4 separate regions of the Homo sapiens genome follow, and regions 1, 2 and 3 are each linked to region 4. Evidence: promoter capture Hi-C in human tissues and cell types (Jung and others, 2019). All regions are on one chromosome and are shown on one strand. The core of a region is centred on a gene start or on the middle of the fragment in contact, and the rest is flanking DNA. Distances in the headings are between cores, read along the strand shown.

Evidence for each region. The method cuts DNA at HindIII sites, captures the fragments that hold promoters and counts their contacts. A contact is called where the count stands out against the background at its distance.
Region 1: a contact is called between a fragment that was not itself captured here and the fragment with the promoter of SPATA2 in region 4, in 1 of the 25 tissues and cell types used here (lymphoblastoid cells).
Region 2: a contact is called between a fragment that was not itself captured here and the fragment with the promoter of SPATA2 in region 4, in 1 of the 25 tissues and cell types used here (lymphoblastoid cells).
Region 3: a fragment that was not itself captured here is called in contact with the fragment with the promoter of SPATA2 in region 4 in 1 of the 25 tissues and cell types used here (dorsolateral prefrontal cortex).

What each region holds. Positions count from the first base shown.
Region 1 is chr20:49,495,887-49,500,525 of GRCh38, forward strand. No RefSeq gene overlaps it. Among named protein-coding and RNA genes, the nearest start is that of KCNB1, 16 kb to the left of the region's middle. The HindIII fragment of the contact is 4,348 bases long and covers 210-4,557 here.
Region 2 is chr20:49,423,496-49,428,298 of GRCh38, forward strand. All of the region lies in intron 1 of KCNB1 (potassium voltage-gated channel subfamily B member 1), which reads right to left. It overlaps LOC105372649 (a long non-coding RNA gene), which reads left to right. Exons shown (of 4, transcript XR_001754659.2): 3 at 3,157-3,272. Among named protein-coding and RNA genes, the nearest start is that of KCNB1, 57 kb to the right of the region's middle. RefSeq lists enhancers at 761-1,284, 1,285-1,808. The HindIII fragment of the contact is 6,547 bases long and covers 1-4,803 here.
Region 3 is chr20:49,635,055-49,639,604 of GRCh38, forward strand. B4GALT5 (beta-1,4-galactosyltransferase 5) reads right to left here. Exons shown (of 9, transcript NM_004776.4): 8 at 2,287-2,388; 9 at 1-1,405. The coding sequence ends at 1,258. Among named protein-coding and RNA genes, the nearest start is that of PTGIS, 69 kb to the left of the region's middle. RefSeq lists an enhancer at 1,450-1,950. The HindIII fragment of the contact is 3,603 bases long and covers 1,192-4,550 here.
Region 4 is chr20:49,912,445-49,916,920 of GRCh38, forward strand. It overlaps SPATA2 (spermatogenesis associated 2), which reads right to left and starts at 3,085. Exons shown (of 3, transcript NM_006038.4): 1 at 2,936-3,085. LOC105372653 (a long non-coding RNA gene) reads left to right here and starts at 3,378. Exons shown (of 3, transcript NR_134564.1): 1 at 3,378-3,641. RefSeq lists enhancers at 2,103-2,272, 3,067-3,126 and a silencer at 2,787-3,036. The HindIII fragment of the contact is 5,477 bases long and covers 1,191-4,476 here.

The sequences.
Region 1 (4,639 bases), core at 1,134-3,633, 420 kb before region 4:
AAGTATCTGGAATTATAGGCACATACCCAGTGTGCCTGACTGAGCCTGGTTTTCTGACCAACCCAAACATTTACCCATCTCTCCTTCCTTTCTTTTGCCTATCACCTATCCATCAACCTAATCATCCCCTCATCCATCTATATACTCAGCAACCAAATTATTCAACTACATACCCACCCATCCATCTACCCACTCACTCATCTATTCGTTCACTCACCCACTTACTCATCCATCTTTCTTTCCATTCATTCATATATTCTATCCATTATCCATCTTGCTACCTTCTCATCCACCTACTTATCCATTTATCCATCTATCCACCCATCCGTACACCATCTGTCTTTCCACTCATCCATCTATCTGCCCATTCACCCACCCACACAACTACTCCCTCATCCACCCCAAATATTCATGCATCTATCCACCACTCACTCGCCAGTCATCCATCCGTCCACCCTTCTAATCTATCCATGTATCTATCTGCCCACCCAGCCATCTCAACCCATCTACCACCTAACATTTGCAGTGATGCTCTGTGCTAATCCCTAGCTTGTTGTTTTGGGCTCCCTCCCTGGGAGGAAAGGTGAGTGCCATCAGAGGGTCCCCACAGAGGAAGACAGATAAACCAGTGAGCCTCTTTGTGGCCTGGACCTTCAAAGCCACTGACTTCCAGGGTCTGTGGCCAAACAATGATGAAATGCACATGGAAAATGAGAAGCCCTGCAATTACATGGAAAGAGACAGAGGCTCAGCCCTCCCAATGTTACAGCTGAATGCAGCATTCCAGGCATCCCTACCAAGCCACTCCACCATAGGGTGGAGATGGATGGAGGCACATGCTTCCAGCAGAGCAATTAGAGGTAAACTAATATCTCTTTCCCACAGAGGAGCCTGGGAACTCCAAGACGCAATGGAAAGGAGGCGAGTCAGCAAAAGGAGGAAATCAAAGCCACAGAGATCAAGAGCTAATTAACTGATCCTCCTAAGATAATGTTTCATTAAAATCCAGTTCTTCTGCCCTGTGGGGACTGATATCTCTCCTACTGCCTCTCCATTGCCCTTTTCCACCCATTCCTGATCTCATCTGCCTCCGCTCTGATCTTTCCCCAAGTCTTCTCCCTCCTCCAATCCAACCTCCCCCCAGCTACTAGGGTAGACTTTTAAAGGCACAAGTCTGACCATGTCACTCCCTATTTATAAGTCTTCACCACTCATTGCCTGAGACAAAGGGCAAACTCCCAAGATAAGGCAAAGGCCGTTCATTCATTTAACACAGATTTCCTCAGTGCCTCTCCTCTCTCACAAGCTTGGGGATGGTAGGACACAGAAACAAGTTTCTGACCCTTGCCCTGTTTCTCCAGCTTCTTTACCCACCACTCCTTTCCACATTCCTGCATTTCAGCAAAAACTTTCCAACCTCCGGCTTAGTGATAGCCAGTCCCTAGGGAAACTGTTGTTAGTATCCATGCTTTGCTCAGCTCACTTCCACATTGACTCTGGGCTTGGCCTTGTGACTTGCATTTACCAGTGGAATGTGGTGGCAGTAATGCCAGTTCCAGGCCTAAGCCTTGAAAGGGTCGGGAAGCTTCTGCTTTTGTGCTCTTGGGAGCTCTGAACCACTGTGTAGGCAGCCAGGCTACCCTGCTGGAAGGGACCATGTGGAAAAACCACATGGAAAGTGAGAAGCCCTGCAATTACATGGAAAGAGACCAGAGGCTCAGCCCTCCCAATGTTACAGCTGAATGCAGCCTTCCAGCCATACCTACCAAGGCACCAGGCATATGAATGAAGTCGTCGTGGACGTCCCAGCCTCACCTAACATCTGACTGCAGCTGCATGAGAGACCCCCAAGTGAGAGCAGCAGCAGAACCATCCAACTATAAGCCCCATTCTCTTTCTATTAGTTCTTATGAGAGCTATTCATTCTCATGAGCTTTTTAGAAAGTGCCAACCTGGCTGGGCACTGTGGTTCACGCCTGTAATCCCAGCACTTTGGGAGGCTAAGATTGGTGGATCACCTGAGGTCAGGAGTTTGAGACCAGCCTGACCAACATGGTGAAACCCCGTCTCTACTAAAAAAATTACAAAAATTAGCCAAGCGTGTTGGCAGGCACCTGTAATTCCAGCTACTCAGGAGGCTGAGGCAGGAGAATTGCTTGAACCCAGGAGGTGGAGGTTGCAGTGAGCCAAGATCATGCTGCTAGACTCCAGCCTGGGCAACAGAGTGAGATTCCATCTCAAAACACAAACCAAAAGCGCCAATCCACAAAGACATGAGAAATAATAAAATAGTTTTGTGTTAAGTCACTACATCTTGGAGTTGTTTGTTACACAGCACGAGATATCTGATACAGAGGCCTTGCTCCTGCTATTTCCACAGCTTAGAATGTTTCTCCAACCCCAGCCATCTTCTTTACCCCACATGGTGAACTCCTATTCACCTTTCAGAGCCCATATTCAGCATCACCTTCCCTGCCTCCCATAGTCTGAGTTAATGTCTCTTTCCTCTGGGAAACTGTATGAGACTAACCTACAATACTTATTTTTCTGTTTCTTCCGCTGGCTATGAATGACAATATTTACTCATGTAATGCTCACAAGAACCCTATGAGGGAGACGGTATTATTATCCATTATCCTATTTTACAGGTGAATAAGCTGGGGCACAGAGAAATGCCCCCAAATCACCCTGGTATTAAGTGGCTCAGCAGAGATTTAAGCCCACTCAGAACCCAAGCTCTTGTCCACTGTGGCTTCTTAGTAAAGTATAAAAAAGGTATGACATTTATTGGTCTCATTTAACACAAAATCCAGAAGTAGGTGATGCCAGGACCTGTCTCAGCAACAGCCTAGCTATCTCAGGGTCCTTGTTTGATTTCTGTGAGAGTCTCTTGTCCACATCGTCACAAAACGGCTGCCATGCTCAGCCTCTCACATGACAACTCCCAGAGAGGGAGGAAGAAGGAACATCTCCCATATTTCAGAAGCTCCCCACTGATTTTCCCAGCCATCTCATTGGTCAGTACTGGATCACATGACCACCACTAGCCCAGTTACTGGCAAGGGGAACCTGATATCCATGTTTGGCTTGGCCCTGTCTTGATTTGGAGGTTGGGCCCATTTTCTTGAGCACAAGGCTGCCTAATATCTGAAGAAAGCCAGGGTTTCTTCTAGTGAGGAAGTTGGCCAATCAATTAGTGTCTCTTCTGCAGTGGTCAGCTCTTAGAACACCTGAAATAAAGTCACATACAGACCCTGTTCATCCCAAGGATCCAGATGTCCCAAAGGTCAATCTCCCAGATTTGCATAATGTGAGTTGTCTTAGTCCATTTGTGTTGCTATAAAGGAATACCTAAGGCTGCATAATTTATAGAGAAAAGAGGCTTATTTGGCTCAATGTTCTGCAGGCTATACAAGATGTGGCACTGGCATCTGCTTCTGGTGAGGGCCTCAGGCTGCTTCCACTCATGCTGAAAGGGGAAGGGCAGCCCGTGTGTGCAGAGACCTCATGGCAAGAGAGGAAGCAAGAAAGAGGCAAGGGAGGCACCGGCTCTTTTCAACAACCAGCTCTTGCAGGAACTACTAGAGTGAGAACTCACTTCTTACCATGGGGAGGGCACCAGGCCTTTCATGAGGGATCAACTCCCATGACCCAAACCCCTCCCATTAGACCACACCTCCAACATTGGGAATCAAATTTCAACATGAGGTTTGCAAAGGTCAAACATCCTAACTATAGCATGGGTGCACCTGCCTTGTCTCTCCCAGGCCACTGTGAAGCTCCACGGAAGGTCCTGGGGCAATAAGATAGTACACTGCCAGCTCTTCCCCAACTCATCACCCTCCCATCCTTGCAGACACACACTCTGAACCATGTCTCAAATGGCCATGACTCCCAAATGCCAGACCAATAACGTGTTTGCATTTTCACTGGTCCATCATGAAATGAATGAGAAAAAACAGGGACAATGGAATGAGATTTGTATAAAGCTAAATTGATTCCATTTAAAGGATGATGGTGATTTACTTTCCTACTTAAACTCTCTCATGGCTTCCCAGGGCACTTAGCATAAAGCCCAGCCTCCTCTTCCTGACAAGGTCTGCTCCCAGAGTGGCTCCTGCCACCCCCTCACTCAGCCACAGCCTTCCTGGGATGCTCTCTTTCTCCAGCACACCAAACCCCTTGCCTCTTTAGAGTTCTTTGGATTTGTAGTCTCTTTCTCCTGGAATGTTCTTCCTCTAGTTCTTTACAAAGCTGCGATCTCTCATCTTGATCTCAACTCCTATCGCCACCTGCCTGGAGACTTTTCCTGACTGCCTCCAAGGCCACAGGCACATCCATCTCCGTGTCAGCATCCATCACCTCCTGCTGTTTGCTTGTCCTCAGCATCTGACACTGTATTTATGCTGATTTGTTTCTTTACTGGATGGCCTCTGCTGCCCAAATGTGAAATCTATGAGGGCAGAGACCTTGCCCGGACTAGTGCAGTCCCTTCCTCCCTGGTCTCCAGCTTCCCAGCCCTCAGCATGCACGGTGAGATGGATCCTCCTAGAATACAAGTTAAACCATGGCCCTTCTCTGCCCAGAGCCTTCCGTGGCTGCTGGCCACACTGCCTCCCTCCTGCTCCTAGAACCTGCC
Region 2 (4,803 bases), core at 1,129-3,628, 490 kb before region 4:
GCTGTTTAAAATTTTTTATGGTATAAAGCTATTTAAAAAAAAAAAAAGAACAGAGGGGAGTCAGAGGGAGGGGACAAGGGGTGGAGGGTGGAGTTGTTAGAGCTTCATGGGGCATAGGAGATAAATGGATATGTACTGGCTGGAAAGGATAGAAGCTGTGATTTTCTTAGTCACCTAACTGGGGAAATCCCAGAACAGGAGGCCTCTGAGTTCCTACTAGCTGACAAGTGATAAAAGCTGAGAGTAATAATGACAAGTGCTAACACTGATTAAGTGCCAGGCACATGCCAGGCAACTATACAGAGCATGTTACAGGTATGAACCCATCTGCTCCTCCAAGAAGCCCTTTGAAGTGGTATTGGGAGATAATTCTCCATGGGTCTCTCCAAGGTCTGCATGTCTTCAGCTCAAAAGACACTGAGACCTTTGTTCTAGACTATCATCTCAAGGACATCTGTGTAGCAAACACACTTGGAGGACAGAGACAATATCTCTCTCTGGAGCAGAAAGAAGAGGATAGAGTTGTTTCCCAACCAGTACAATAATGTCTCTATCTGAGGCAAAGGCTAGACAGGTTTGGCAATAGCCCCTTTATAAGATTGCAGGTTTCCTAAGCTCTGGGATCCTCCATTGAGACACAGATCTGCTGCTGTGTGTGCAGAATCCATTTGGGTTGTTTTCATTGCTCTCATGGAACTTGGGAGACAATTAGAACTGACGCAAATATGAAGCTTGTGCTGCTTGCTATACTGTGACTAATAAAGTCCTTTGTCTCTGACCTGGGATCTCGTGTCTTCTGCCGTCATGTATGGCATTGTGGCAGGCTAACTCATTAGCTTGTGAGCAGTGCAAAATCTCGGACCCTTCGTAGTTCTTCCGTCATACTCACATCACCCCTGTTTTACAGATGAGGACTTTGAGGCCCAGAGAATTGAAGCTTCTTGTTCAAGATCACACAGCTAACAAGTAACAAAGCTAGGACTGTTACCCAGACCGATTGGGAAAGGAAGGAGAGATGAGTAGGGGATTGGAGAAGAGAACCGCTGGAAATGACAGGAGCTGAAGGCCCCAAAGGTACACAGAAGGTCATGCCTCTCAGCTTCCCAAACCCACACACCCCCAGATGCTGCCTGTCCCTACATCCGGCTGCTGGGGCTGAGCAGCCAATTTGGGACGACCGTGATATATTTAACGGTGAGTCATGCTCTCCCCCAGCAATCAGCAGTGGCAGGCTCGGGAGGATGCAGGGAGCATCTCTGGAAATCCGTGCCTGAGGGTCGCCATGACAACGCCATCTGAGTCGCTTGCCAGCAGCTGGGATGCCAGTGCCTGAACCAAGGCACAAAATAGTCTCACAGGCTGAGTGCGGCCGAGGACAGGAGCAGGCCCCCTGCACGGCATCCCCAATGGGTTTGCCAGGGATTGATGGGAGGGATGTGAGGACTTGGTGACAAGGGAGATTCATGGGCTCACTGTCCAGGTCACAGTACTCTATGGAAGCCTGGGGTCCCTGGCTGGTGGGAATGAGCACACTTGGCGTGATGGGTATTTTGGTGAGCACCATCTCTTCCTGCCTTGGTTCTTCTTGGTTTGTCTGTCTCATAGTTGCTCTCCCAGAGGCCCTGCCCAATTTGAGGCTTCTATCCAAGTGTCACAACCTCTGAAGACTGACAGCAACTTGGGAAGGTAACCAAGATCATCTTCCAGGATAATTCTGAAGACTTCAGAACCTAGGGCGAATCAGCCACACCCACACACTAACACCAAATACGAATATCCCATGAAAGCAGCTTGGAATCCATTCATTCATTCATAAATCCATTCATCACCTTGTCCTCTCAGTTGTTCATTTTAATTAGAACCTGGGTCCTACAGGCCCTATGTAGAAGTGGATTTGGTTATCCCGTCCTCATCCCCTTTCACTCCCCCTCTCTTATTCTACTCTAGCTCACTAGTCTTACTGCTGTTCCTCAAACATACAGTTGCTTTTCTGCCTCAGAGCCTTTGCACTTGCTCCTCCATCTGCCTGGAAAGCTCTTCCCCCAGAAGGGAAGCTCTCCCTTTAGGTTTCTGCTCATATGTCACCTTCTCAGAGACACACTACCAAGACCACCCTAGGAGAAAGCACCTAATTCAGCCTCAGTGATAAGGCCAAATATATATATATATATATATTATGTATAATATGACATATATCTGTGACTTAGTTTCCCCCATCCGTACGAAGCAAAGAGAGACAAGCTGAAAATTGGTGGCCTGTAAGTTGAATCTAACTCACAGACCTGTTTTGTTTGGTTTACATAGTGTTTCAAGAACTGAGCAAGTTGCTAACAGTTATAAAGTTGAGAGATTTTGTTTTAGAATGCAAATTTTCAATTTATCTCGAAAAACTAAGGTTGGGTGTGGTGGCTCATGCCTGTAATCCTAGCACTCTGAGAGGCTGAGGAGGGTGGATCACTTGAGCCCAAGGAGTTTGAGACCAGCCTGGCCAACAGGACAAAACCTCGTCTCTACAAAAAATACAAAAATTAGCTGTGTGTGGGGGCATGTACCTGTAGTCCCAGCTACTTGGAAGGCTGAGGTGGGAGGATCACTTGAGGCTGGGAGGTTGAAGCTGCAGTGAGCCATGATCATGCTACTGCACTCCATCCTGGGAGACAGAGTGAGACCCTGTCTCAAAAAAAAAAAAAAAAAAAAAAGAAAAGAAAAGAAAACAAAGAAAAATATTAAGCTGTGCATTCTGCATCTGTAAAAGCAACTGGCTGAGGCATGAGCATTCCAGTGCCAAAGGCCCTATGTGGACCTCTTCATTCATTTATGTGGCCATGTTCTACCTATGGGAGTCTTTGGGCTTGCAGCCCAAGTCTCTAATCCGAGGTCTCTAAGGGTCTTTGGTTTGGGATGGAAAGAGTGTGGCATAGTGGTTAAGAGTCAGGCCGATGGGGCTGCAATCCTCACTCACTTCAGTGTTCACAGCTTCAGTTTCCTCACATGTAGTATGGAATCTCAGAGAGTTAATGTGCGAACTGAACAAAACAATGTACCTGGAAAAATGCTTAACACAGAGCCTAGGAAATAGAACACAATAAGTGGAAACTTAAAAAAGAGCTTTTTCTGGCCTTTAATGACAGTCCATTCCTTGATCTGACTCACTAGGTCTCTTCGATCAGAAATTTGGGAGACAAGGAAGGGCTGTTTTGCTGCAATTCACTTGATGTCAAAGCAGGAAAGACCTCGGACAAAGCTTCAAGTCTAACCTTTTTTGTTCTCGGGTGAGTAAACCAAGACCAGAGGATGAGTCTTGCCCAGAAGAGTTTCTAACCATTCTTCCCCCAGGTATTTGTTTCCCGGTGAAATTTGCTTAAAGTTGGAATTGGCTGAGTGTGGGCCAGAGCTATGGGCATTGTTGTGAACACTTGCTTTTAACTGCCCAGTATCTACTTGCTCTTTATCTGTAACAGCTCCCTGATTTTTCCCTGGCACCATCCCTCTTCTGATCCCCAGGAAATGGCTCCAGGTATGGGCATGTGGTTCATGACCACAGTGGTTGGCTCAGAGATGGCCATATGATGCAATCCAGGCCAATGCATGTCAACCACAGAGCTCTTAGGAACTACTGGTACCCACTGGAGCTGCTGGGCTGGTTAGATACAAGCCTGGGGCTGCTGAGAGCCATTTTTGCTATGACTTGGGGAGCTGCCTGCGAGGATGCCAACACAAAGGAAAAAAGGTCCAGGTGATGGAGGAAAACAGAAACCTTAGAACATAATTTGAGCAACTTGATTCAGCTGAGCCTGAAGGCGTGTACCCCTGGGCTTTTCAGTTACATAAGCCAATCAGTCCCTTCTGCCTTCCTCTTTTTTTGCTACGATCAGTTAGAATCAAGATTCTGGATTCATCCAGGCATGGTAGGTGAAGGTGTTGGGTAAGCAAAGGCCCAGAAGCAGGAAAATGCAGAACAAGTTCTGGGATTTCCAATGAATAACCTGCAGTGGGAAGAGGCCAGTAAACTCACTTAAAGCCAGAACCTGGGGAGCTTTGAATGCCTTGCTAAGTCACTTTGACTTTATCCTAAGGGTAACAGGGAGCCATGGGAAAGGACCTGCCAGAGTTGGCAATGGTGTGGGGCAGTGGGAGTGAGGATTATTCTGGATATTAAGTCTGGTTCAGGGTTCTCCTGGGATCCAACTCCAGCCCAGAGTGCATGCAGTGGTGAGAGAGGGTGTCTTCCCTCAGCACCCGCAGCTTCCAGTCCCTCCTGACTGTCTTATAATAACAGTGTTTTCAATGCAGACCTTCTGGGTTCCCTGCCGCGAATCACTCAGCCACCCTTCCAGGGAGAAAACAAAAAGCAGTGTTTTTCCGTGTCTATTTTAGGCTGCTGCCTACATCTTTGTTCTTCGTGAGGAACACACACTCCCGGGGGGCCCTTTTCTCAGCTGTGGCCCAGCAGTCGGGTCTGGACCACCAGGCTGGGTTCCGTTATGGGAAAGAACCAGCAGATGTAATGGAATCATGCCAATTAGGCCAGGAGCTGCGTGGGGATGATGTTATCATTAAGTTCCAGAAGACGTGGAGGTGAGGGGGAAGGTAGCTCATTCCCGTCCACATGGCTATCCCAGACGGACTGCCTTTTTTGATCTGTCCCCTTCGACTATCCTGAGCAGCTAGGAAGAGCCCACCCTTGCTATCCCCTGAGGGACAGAATTTAGAAGTCTGCATTGTATGAGACACTTGTGCTCATTTTACTGTTGGGCTGAAAGCAGAAGTAGAAATTCTATGGCAAATGGGTGGATCCAGCCC
Region 3 (4,550 bases), core at 1,743-4,242, 280 kb before region 4:
TCCTTGGTTCTATGTATCAGTTACTAATGTTGACAAAGAATCTTTCCAGAAACCAAAAAGGGACACAGAGGAATCACTGAAGCCAGCTGGTAATGTAGGCACATTGTTCAGAAACTGTGGCCAAGTTCCACAAGAGAAAAAGTAAGAGGGGGAGGGATTCCCATACACACCCCCGCCCCCCGCCCCCCGCCCCGCCATGCTGATGAAAAGACAGAACACGAAGCCTGGAGAGCCAGAGATGTGTGTGCAGCGAGCCCCGAAGGGCCTGCTTTAGGCAGGAAGCAGCCTGCTCTAACAGCAGCCTCCCGCTTAGCGGAGAGTGGGATGAGCACATGCGCGGCCGACAGGGAAGAGTGAATCCAGAGCAGAAGTCAAGGGCAAGACTCGTGGGGGGGGGAAGAAAGGGACAGAAGCCAGCTCCCAGCAATAAAGGTCGGGTTATTTTGTTCTTTTGTGACATGCCCTATATCCACTCCCTCGCCAAAGTGACAGCAATTCGGGAGATGACATTCTTCAACTGCATTTTAACTGAGTTCCTGCACTTGCCAACCAAGTAAGTGGCCTAATACATAAATCCTCAATTTGAATTGGAGCCAGCTAGAAAATTAAATTTTAAAAAGGCATTTTACATGGCTTATTTACAATTATACTTCTTCAAGAAGTGATTGTTATATATTTATGTCTATTTATCTTTCCCAAACACCCTCCCCTCCACCCTCAATCCCCACCCAAAGAAGGTAATTTTTTAAAAAAATGAAACCAAAGAGAACACCAGAGATCTAGAAGAATGGTGTGGAGTTTCATTTGCTCTTCCTAAAACGCAGCTGCCCTGTGGTGGGTTTGCCTCTGCTCTGAAGGCCAAGAGGCTCCAAGGTCATGTGTAGGGACAGGCTCCACGGCAGGACCACGGCAGGACCACGGCAGATCACAGTTCATCATGGGTTCTGGAGACTGCGGCTAAGACAGGATGTGGGGTAGGAGATGGGGAGAGAGCAGCGGGACAGACGTCTGTCTTGTGAAAACAGAAAGCCAGTGCTGACGAAGGAAGTCCCCAAGCTCACTCCCTCAGTTCCAGCGGCTGATCCAGTGAAGGCGTTTGTGCGTGTGCTGTCACATTTTCCCCCTGAACTCTGTGATCCTTCATGAGACACAGTATTTCTGTTCTCTTGCTGTGTAGACCCTCCCCCCTCCAAAAAAAAATCTCATCGGACTGCTTTCTTGGTGGCGGTGGGTAAAGCAAACGTACATTCTCTCCTCTCAGTACTCGTTCACCTGAGCCAGCTCGGGTGTCAGGTTGACAGTTATGTTTTTATACAAGGCGTCGTATGTGATGTTTGCAAAGTAGTTCAGGTTGTTGAGGCCATCCAGCCCTTGCCGTTCTTTTGACTTCCTCAGCAGAGCATACCTGTTTAGGGAGGGAACAGAGAAGAGGTGGCTCTGAGTGAGGATCCATGCCTCTGCAGCCAGAGGATGGAGCAGGGCGTCCCACAGCAGAGGACGCAACCCATGGCAGCACTTCTGCAGCACAAGGTGGGCGCACGGCCAATTCTGCTATGCCAGGCTGAGTGCTGTGGTCAGAAACACCTCCTGTGTTTCATGCCAGGTGCTTCACTTAATTATTTCATTTAATGCTCACGCCAGCCCCTGCTAGCAAATGAGGAAGCCAAGGCTTAATAATGTGAGGTAACTTGCCCAAGGTCAGAGAGTGGGGAAGTGGGAGGTAAAGCATTAAAAATACAACAGATGAGAAAGTTCATACTCTGTATTCAGTGCCATTTTACTCCCATGAAAACAGAATTTCAGCAATTAGAATTGGTTGTCTAGAGCACAGTCTTCCCCACAATTTAGAAAAGACACACACACACACACACACACACACACAAAGAAAGAAAAGGTAACACAGCAACTGCAGCCACCCAGACAGAAGCTCAGGACACCATTCGGAACGGGAGCCTGCGGAAAGGGCGCCACTGCTCTGTCACCTCAGGGACCTTCATCCAAGCTGTTTCTTCCCAAATTCCCCAAAGGCTACTGTGGAGACCACAAGGCTGAAGACATAGGACAAGTGATTTCCTTCGAAGAATCTTACTATTGAAAATGTTCACCAACGGTCTGATCCCCACACTGTTCTGCCTCAGAGTTAGAATACATGCAACAGCTGTCAAACAGCTGTCAGAACAGGGCCTCGGGGTGGGGAGTAGGAGAAGGGGCTGTAATATGCTCTAAGATATCCGGACATGAAAGTATAGGGGATACTTCTAAGAGACAGAGATAAATTCCACCAACCTTCCAAGAAACTGGACTTCTCCTCGATGGTGATGAGGAATGGACTTGTACTTTCCTGTGTCACCCTCTGGCCGGCTCACAGAATAGCCTGCATTCTGTACTCTGTCCAAGACCAAGAGAACAGGCTTTTAGATACAACGGTAATAGCCCAGGAGTGACCAAAGCCTACAAGACATGTTACAAGCTTACCCTGGAAATCACACACAGCAAAAGCTCTCACCCGCTTAACTGACTCATTGTGTCATTTCTTAAAAACTGAGTTAAAACTCAATTTTAACTGAATTAAAGTTTTTATGTGAACGGAAAAAATAGGCTGGGCTAGGTGGCTCGTGCCTGTAATCCCAGCACTTTGGGAGGCCGAGGTGGGCAGATCATTTGAGGTCAGGAGTTCGAGACCAGCCTGGCCAAAATGGTGAAACCCCATCTCTACTTAAAAAAAAAAAAAAAAATTAGCCAGGCGTGGTGGTGCAGGTCTGTAATCCCAGCTACTCAGGAGGCTGAGACAGGAGAATCACTTGAACCCGGGAGGCAAAGGTTGCAGTGAGCAAAATTGCACCAGCTTGGGTAACAGAAAGAAAATCTGTCTCAAAAAAGAAAAGAAAAGTACGGAAAGAAATGGTTACTTCCAGGGAATAAAATAGAATCAAAATGGGGATTAATACTTAGACACTTGTATCATCTAATTTTTTTTTTTTAAGAGACAGGGTCCACTGTGTTGCCCAGGCTGGAGTACAGTGAGGTGATCATGGTTCAGTGCAGCCTCAATCTCCCAGGCTCAATTAGTCCTCCCATCTCAGCCTCCTGAGTAGCTGGGACTACAGGCGTGTGCCACCACAACAGGCTAATTTTTTTTATTTTTTGTAGAGACAAGGTCTCACTGTTGCCCAGACTGGTCTTGAACTCCTGGGCTCAAGTGATCCTCAAGCCTAGGCCTTGTGAAGAGGTGGGATTACAGGTGTGAGCCACAGTGCTCAGCCTATCATTTGAATTTTTATTAGCAAAATAGTCCTTGTAATTAACAACAAACACATACTTTTCAAAAGCCAAGCTACAAAGGAAACAGATACCAGGTAGTATTTTGCATTTGTTCCTTATGAGGTTACTGTTTACTTACTCCATAAAAATATTACTTTATTCCACTCACACACAGGATTGTTCACCCAAGCTTGTACAGTACAAGCCTTATGTGATGGCGCAGCTAAATCTATGTAGACATATCACTAATATTCCACCCTTCAGTTTGGAGTGGTTCCAATGAAATGGGCATTTAGTACAGAGAACACTGGTGAAGTGAAAAGTTTTGTTAGAACCTTTAGCAGGAGGGGCACTTAGTTATAATATGCCTTAAAAACCCTATTTGCATCCATTAAAGGACAGAGCTTAAAAAAAAAAAGAGCCTTAAAATGACTACATTCGCTTATAGGAATTTTTCCTAAATAGGAATAACAGGCAAAAGAATTATCTACTATATCACACTCTAAATAGTGGAAAATGGAAAAGATTCTAAATATACACCAGGAAATAGTTACATAAATTACAGTACATCTATATAACCGAATTAAATGGAGCCACTTAAGATCCTGTTTACAGAGTATTTAATGTTGATATAAAAACAGTAACACCTATTGAGAGCTTATCACATATCAGATATGCCAGAGCTCTATACACATTACATCATTTAATCCTCACAATCCTGAGATTTGTGATTTTAAAAACTGACACACAGAGATTTTAAATTACTGTTCACTTGCCACTTTTTAAACACAAAATAAACTCAATGAAATGGTAACATGTTACTTATTGTTGTGGGTAATTTATTTTTATACTCATTTGTATTTTATAATGAACGTATTATTTATTAGAAGAAAAAATTGCTAAATTATAATTTGTTGATTTTCGCATGTCAAAGGAGAAAAATGAAAATAGCTGCTTTGTTGGGATATACAGTTTGTTTTTTAAGATATTAAGATATTTTTAAATTAAGATTAAAGATATTTTCTAAAAACTTGGATGTGTGTGGTGTGTGTGTGTGTGTGTGTGTATTTTTTAAGACAGGTCTCACTCTGTCACCCAAGCTAGAGTGCAGTGGCACAGCTCTCTGTGGCCTCGAACTCCCGGGCTCAAGTGATCCTCCCACCTCGGCCTTCCAAAGTGCTGGGATTACAGGTGTGAGCCATCACAGCTGGTCAATTTCATTTTTTTCCTTAACCTTTTAAACTGTAGCTACTAGAACATGTTAAATTACACACATGGCTTGCATTATA
Region 4 (4,476 bases), core at 1,835-4,334:
TCTACATAAATAAATGTATTGCACCACTGGAGAGGATAGTCACACATGCATTTACCATTCTTGACTTATCTAAGAGAAGCTGCCATCACGCCTCTGGCCCCAGGGTCTGTTTTTTGGTAGTCTGAGAACCATTCAAACACAGAGACATTAAGCTTCCGAATACTGCTGTAATTTTTCTCCAAGGAAGTCAGCCTTGAACTCAAAGAGACTGATTTTTTACAAAGTCAGCCAGTCTCAAGCTCGGCTCAGCGTCTGCTGCTCTATAATCGCACCACAGTCCACACCCTTGTTTGTTGCTGAAAAACAATAAATAAAGGAAAGGGATCCAAACAGCCCAGCTGATGTTCAAAATACTCACAATAAGGACAGGAAGCCTATCTAAAACAAATCTCAAACCAACCTGGGTAGGTGAGGGAAAAGGCGGAAGAAAGTAAAAGCTAAAAGATAATTAAGGGCAAGACAAGCCTGGACAACATAGTTAGACTCCGTCTCTACAAAAAAAAAAAAAAAAAAAATTAGGTGGGTGTGGTGACACCCACCTGTAGTCTTAGCTACTTGGGAGTCTGAGGTGGGGGGATCCACTGAGCCCAGGAGTTTGAGGCTGCAGTGAGCTATGATGGCACCACTGCACTCCGGCCTGGGTGACAGAGCAAGACCTTGTCTCAATCAGTCAATAAGGAAAGGAAAGAAAGAGACTAACAATTACTGAGGTTCTACTATGTGCTAAGCATTGGGCTTCCCACTTTACCTACATCATCCCATTTAATCCTCACAACTCTATAAGGAAAACAGGCTCTTCCCATTAAAACAACCTGCCCAACAGAGTTTGAAAGGGTCAGAGCTGGAATCTGAACTCTTGCTGGGAGGCCCTTGATGCCTGGGCTTTCTCCAATTTACCTCACTCATTTATTGTTACATCAGTACCATTTACCAAGGGATTACTGTGTGGCATCCCTCTGCTAACTGCTCTGTGAAAACCAATGAAATCCACAGGATAGATCCAAGGTTAAAGAGGAAACTGAGGCTCGGAGAGGCCAACTCACTTACCCTAAGTCGTAAGGCTAGGAAGAAGTGGATCTGAGCTCTGAACCTAGGTCTAACGCCAAAACTCCGACTCTTGCAAAGCCATCCTGCTGCATCTGCTGGACAGCTCTACTCGAAAGTGTTTGGCTAAGTTAGAATGCCTTATGGCGGCGCGAGCAGAGTTGAGTTACAAAAATTCCTGTAGTAGCAAAATTCCCATCTTCCCACACCGAATGGGGCTAGGAGAGCTAATCTCTATATGATGTAAGCTCAAGGGCCAAGGAAAGAGGCTGGTCAGAGACATCGGCCAGTGATGAAGCAGCTGACATCATCCCTGCTGAAAACATTTTCTGAGAATACAAGATGCCTTGTAGCTGGTCATAGCTGGTGTTTTTTCTGAGCACAGAGCCAGCAATTCATTCCCAGCACTCTGCAAGAACAACAAAATACGCTCTCTGCAAAAACATCGTGGTTACAGGAGACCGAGACAGCCCAGCGACAGAAGCTGCTAATTTCTCCAAGCAACCCAAGGATTGGAACGCCAAGCCGTGCCAGTCTGGTGGAAAAAAAAAAAAAAAAAAACCCAAAAAACAAAAAAACAGCACTGTGAATATCCTGAACACAGAGACAGGCAGGTGCCCAGAGTCAACGGCTCCAGTCAGCACCTCCTGCACCCACAATCTAGGTACCTTCTTGAAAAGCAAGTCAATGGAAAAAGAGATATTGCACAGTCAGGGAGCCAGTGGCTTCTTTAGTTATTTTTTGAACATCTAAGAGGAAAGCTGTATCTGTTTAGAGTCCCACTGCATGGAAGTGAAGTGATTCCGAGTAGCTAAGCATTAGCTTGGCTTTACCTCAGCTGGCCCATTCAAGCAGAAATGTTCCCCAAGCAGCATTTGAAGGCGCCCCCTCTCTGCACAGGCAGACCTATTTTGGTCTGTGCACTGCCCCTGTCCACAGGTTTACACATCCCTGGTCTAGCTCCATCAGCCTCCAAACAGGAGACGGGGAAGTCAGTTCAACCCCCTCCACCTCCCCACCCACACCAATGCACTCGTTCCAAGCAAGAGGCTCCGAGAAACATCCAAGGCACCTTCCACTGGCTGTGAAACACCAGAAGGTCCCCACACTCCTACTAGATTCCAAAGAAATTCACACAGAGTCCTTCCAAACCTCTGAAAATAACCTCAGCGGTGCTGAAAGAAGCTTCCCTAGTGGCAGCTGCCTCTCTCGGAGAAGCTCTGAAGGAAGCTGTTTCCCTCCCTGCAGGGGACAGAAGCTGGCGGCTGCTAAGTCCCAGCTCGGTCATTCCTACAGCCTCGGGGGGCCACGTCAGTTGTGAAAAACAGCCCAGTCTCAAATTCTGGCCCCCCCTACGGCTTCGTGAATTGAATGAAGTAACAGGAACTATCACTTATTGGACGCCTGCTGTATGCCAGAGGCCCTGCATGATCTCATTCCATCTCCACTCCAGCCCTAGCAACCAGGTTCAATCACTTAAATAGGCAACTGAGGCTCTTAAGATGAAGTGACTTATCCAAGGTCACACAGTGAGTACAAACCCAGGTGTGCCGCCAGAGCCTGAACTGGGAACCCCTGCGCGGTAACTGCCTCGTGGCGAAATCGGGGTGTCCTTCTGTTTGGCCAGTCGCCGAAGAGGGGTGTTCCTCTTGGGCGGCCCTGAGCCACCCTCGGCGGGTCCCAGGAGCCTGCGAGGCAGCTCCCGGGAGAATGGGGGTCCTGAGGATAGGCTGGGGGTCCCGGGAGCGCCGAAACAGCGGGCCCACCTGTAGTCCTGCCTGCCGTGAGGGTACCCCGCTCCCGGGCCAGCCGAGCCCTGCCGCTGTCTGGCGCCCCCTCCGCCTGGGGAAGCCCCGAAGGCAGTTTCCGCCCGCGGCCGCCCGTCACTCACCCTGACACTGCCGCCGAGGACGGCCCGGCCGAGGGAAGCAAGCGAGAGGCGCGGCTGCCGCCGGAGCCGGGCCCCGTCGGGCTCTAGCCTCTCCGGCCGGCTGCAGGGGTACTGAGACCAGTACCCGGGGGCCAGCAGCGACCCGGAAACACTCGGCCCGGAAATGATGTCACCATGAGGCGGGCCCGAAGAGAGGGTGGACCACGGCTGCGCGCTGGCTCCGGGAAGCGGTCGATGCCCGCGGCCGACGGAGACTACAACCCAGAGGCGGAGGACAAAGCGGAAGGCCGAAGAGCGAGGACGAAACCGGCGGAACCGCACTTTGGAGCCTAACGAGCCATCGCTGCGTCTGAGACTGGGACCCGGAAGTAAACAGGCCGGACGTGACGCAAGCCGCTCGGCCTAGGGATGGTGGCTGGCCGGGTTGTCATGGAAACCGCTCAGGAGCAGGGAGCTGGGAGCTATGAGTGCTGACTGCGTGAACTCGGCCTCCACTTCCCGGACCTGCCACTTATCATGATCCACGAGCTGTACTCATGACTCCGCACAAGCAAGCAGGGGCTGACGGTCGGATCCCTCGCCCCCATTTTACGGACAGAAGTACCGAGGCTCAAAGAGAGCCAGTGAGATGCTGAAATCACGCGTGATTGGAATCCAGCCTTGCTAGGGCTGCGGGTGTTACGGGCCGTGGGCGGCGGTTAAGAGCGTGGGTTCTATTTTTAGTTTTGCCACTTACTAGCTGTGTGACCTTGGACAAGTTACCTAACCTCTCTGAGCCTCAGCTTTCTAACCTGTAATATTAAATAATAAAGCCAGGCGTGGTGGCACGCGACTGTAGTCCCAGCTAGTCGGGAGGCTGAGGCGAGAGGATGGCTTGCTCCCAGGTGTTCGAGACCAACCTGGGCAACATAACGAGGCCACGTCTCTTAAAAAAAAAAAAAAAAAAAAAAAAAAAAAAAAGCCGGGCACGGCGGCTCACGCCTGTAATCCCAGCACTTTCGGATAAACTATATATATATATAATCTGACATCCCCACCAGACCCTGAGCTTCTTATTCATCTATTTCCCCCCGAGCTCTGCACATGTCTGATGAGGAGGCACACAACAGATGTTCATTGATTGTAGGATTCTCACTCTGAGTCTTGGTGACCCCAGCTAAAACCGGTGGGGCTTGTGTGATGAGTCAGTGACACAATACTGGGAAACGTTTGGAGAACCAGCAATCTGCTGCTGTCCAAACAGTAGCATTACTGTGTTTACCTGTCGTTGCCTGAGCACCGCTCAAAGTCCCTGTGTTCTTTATCAGCTCATGTTTAAGCTCCTCTCTTAATTATCTGCAATGTGATGATGTTCACAGGAATTCCATCTGAGACAAACTGTCCCACCTTAAGTCTGCCTCTTACAGCAACTCAGCACTCTGGTTTGGTAGCTCTTACAATATTGCATTTTCACGTGGGGCTGCTTAAAAAAGTCCCCTCCAGCTCTGTGGGTCTATGACAGGCAAAAGAGAAACAAAGATTTTGAAGAAGGGCTTTACCAG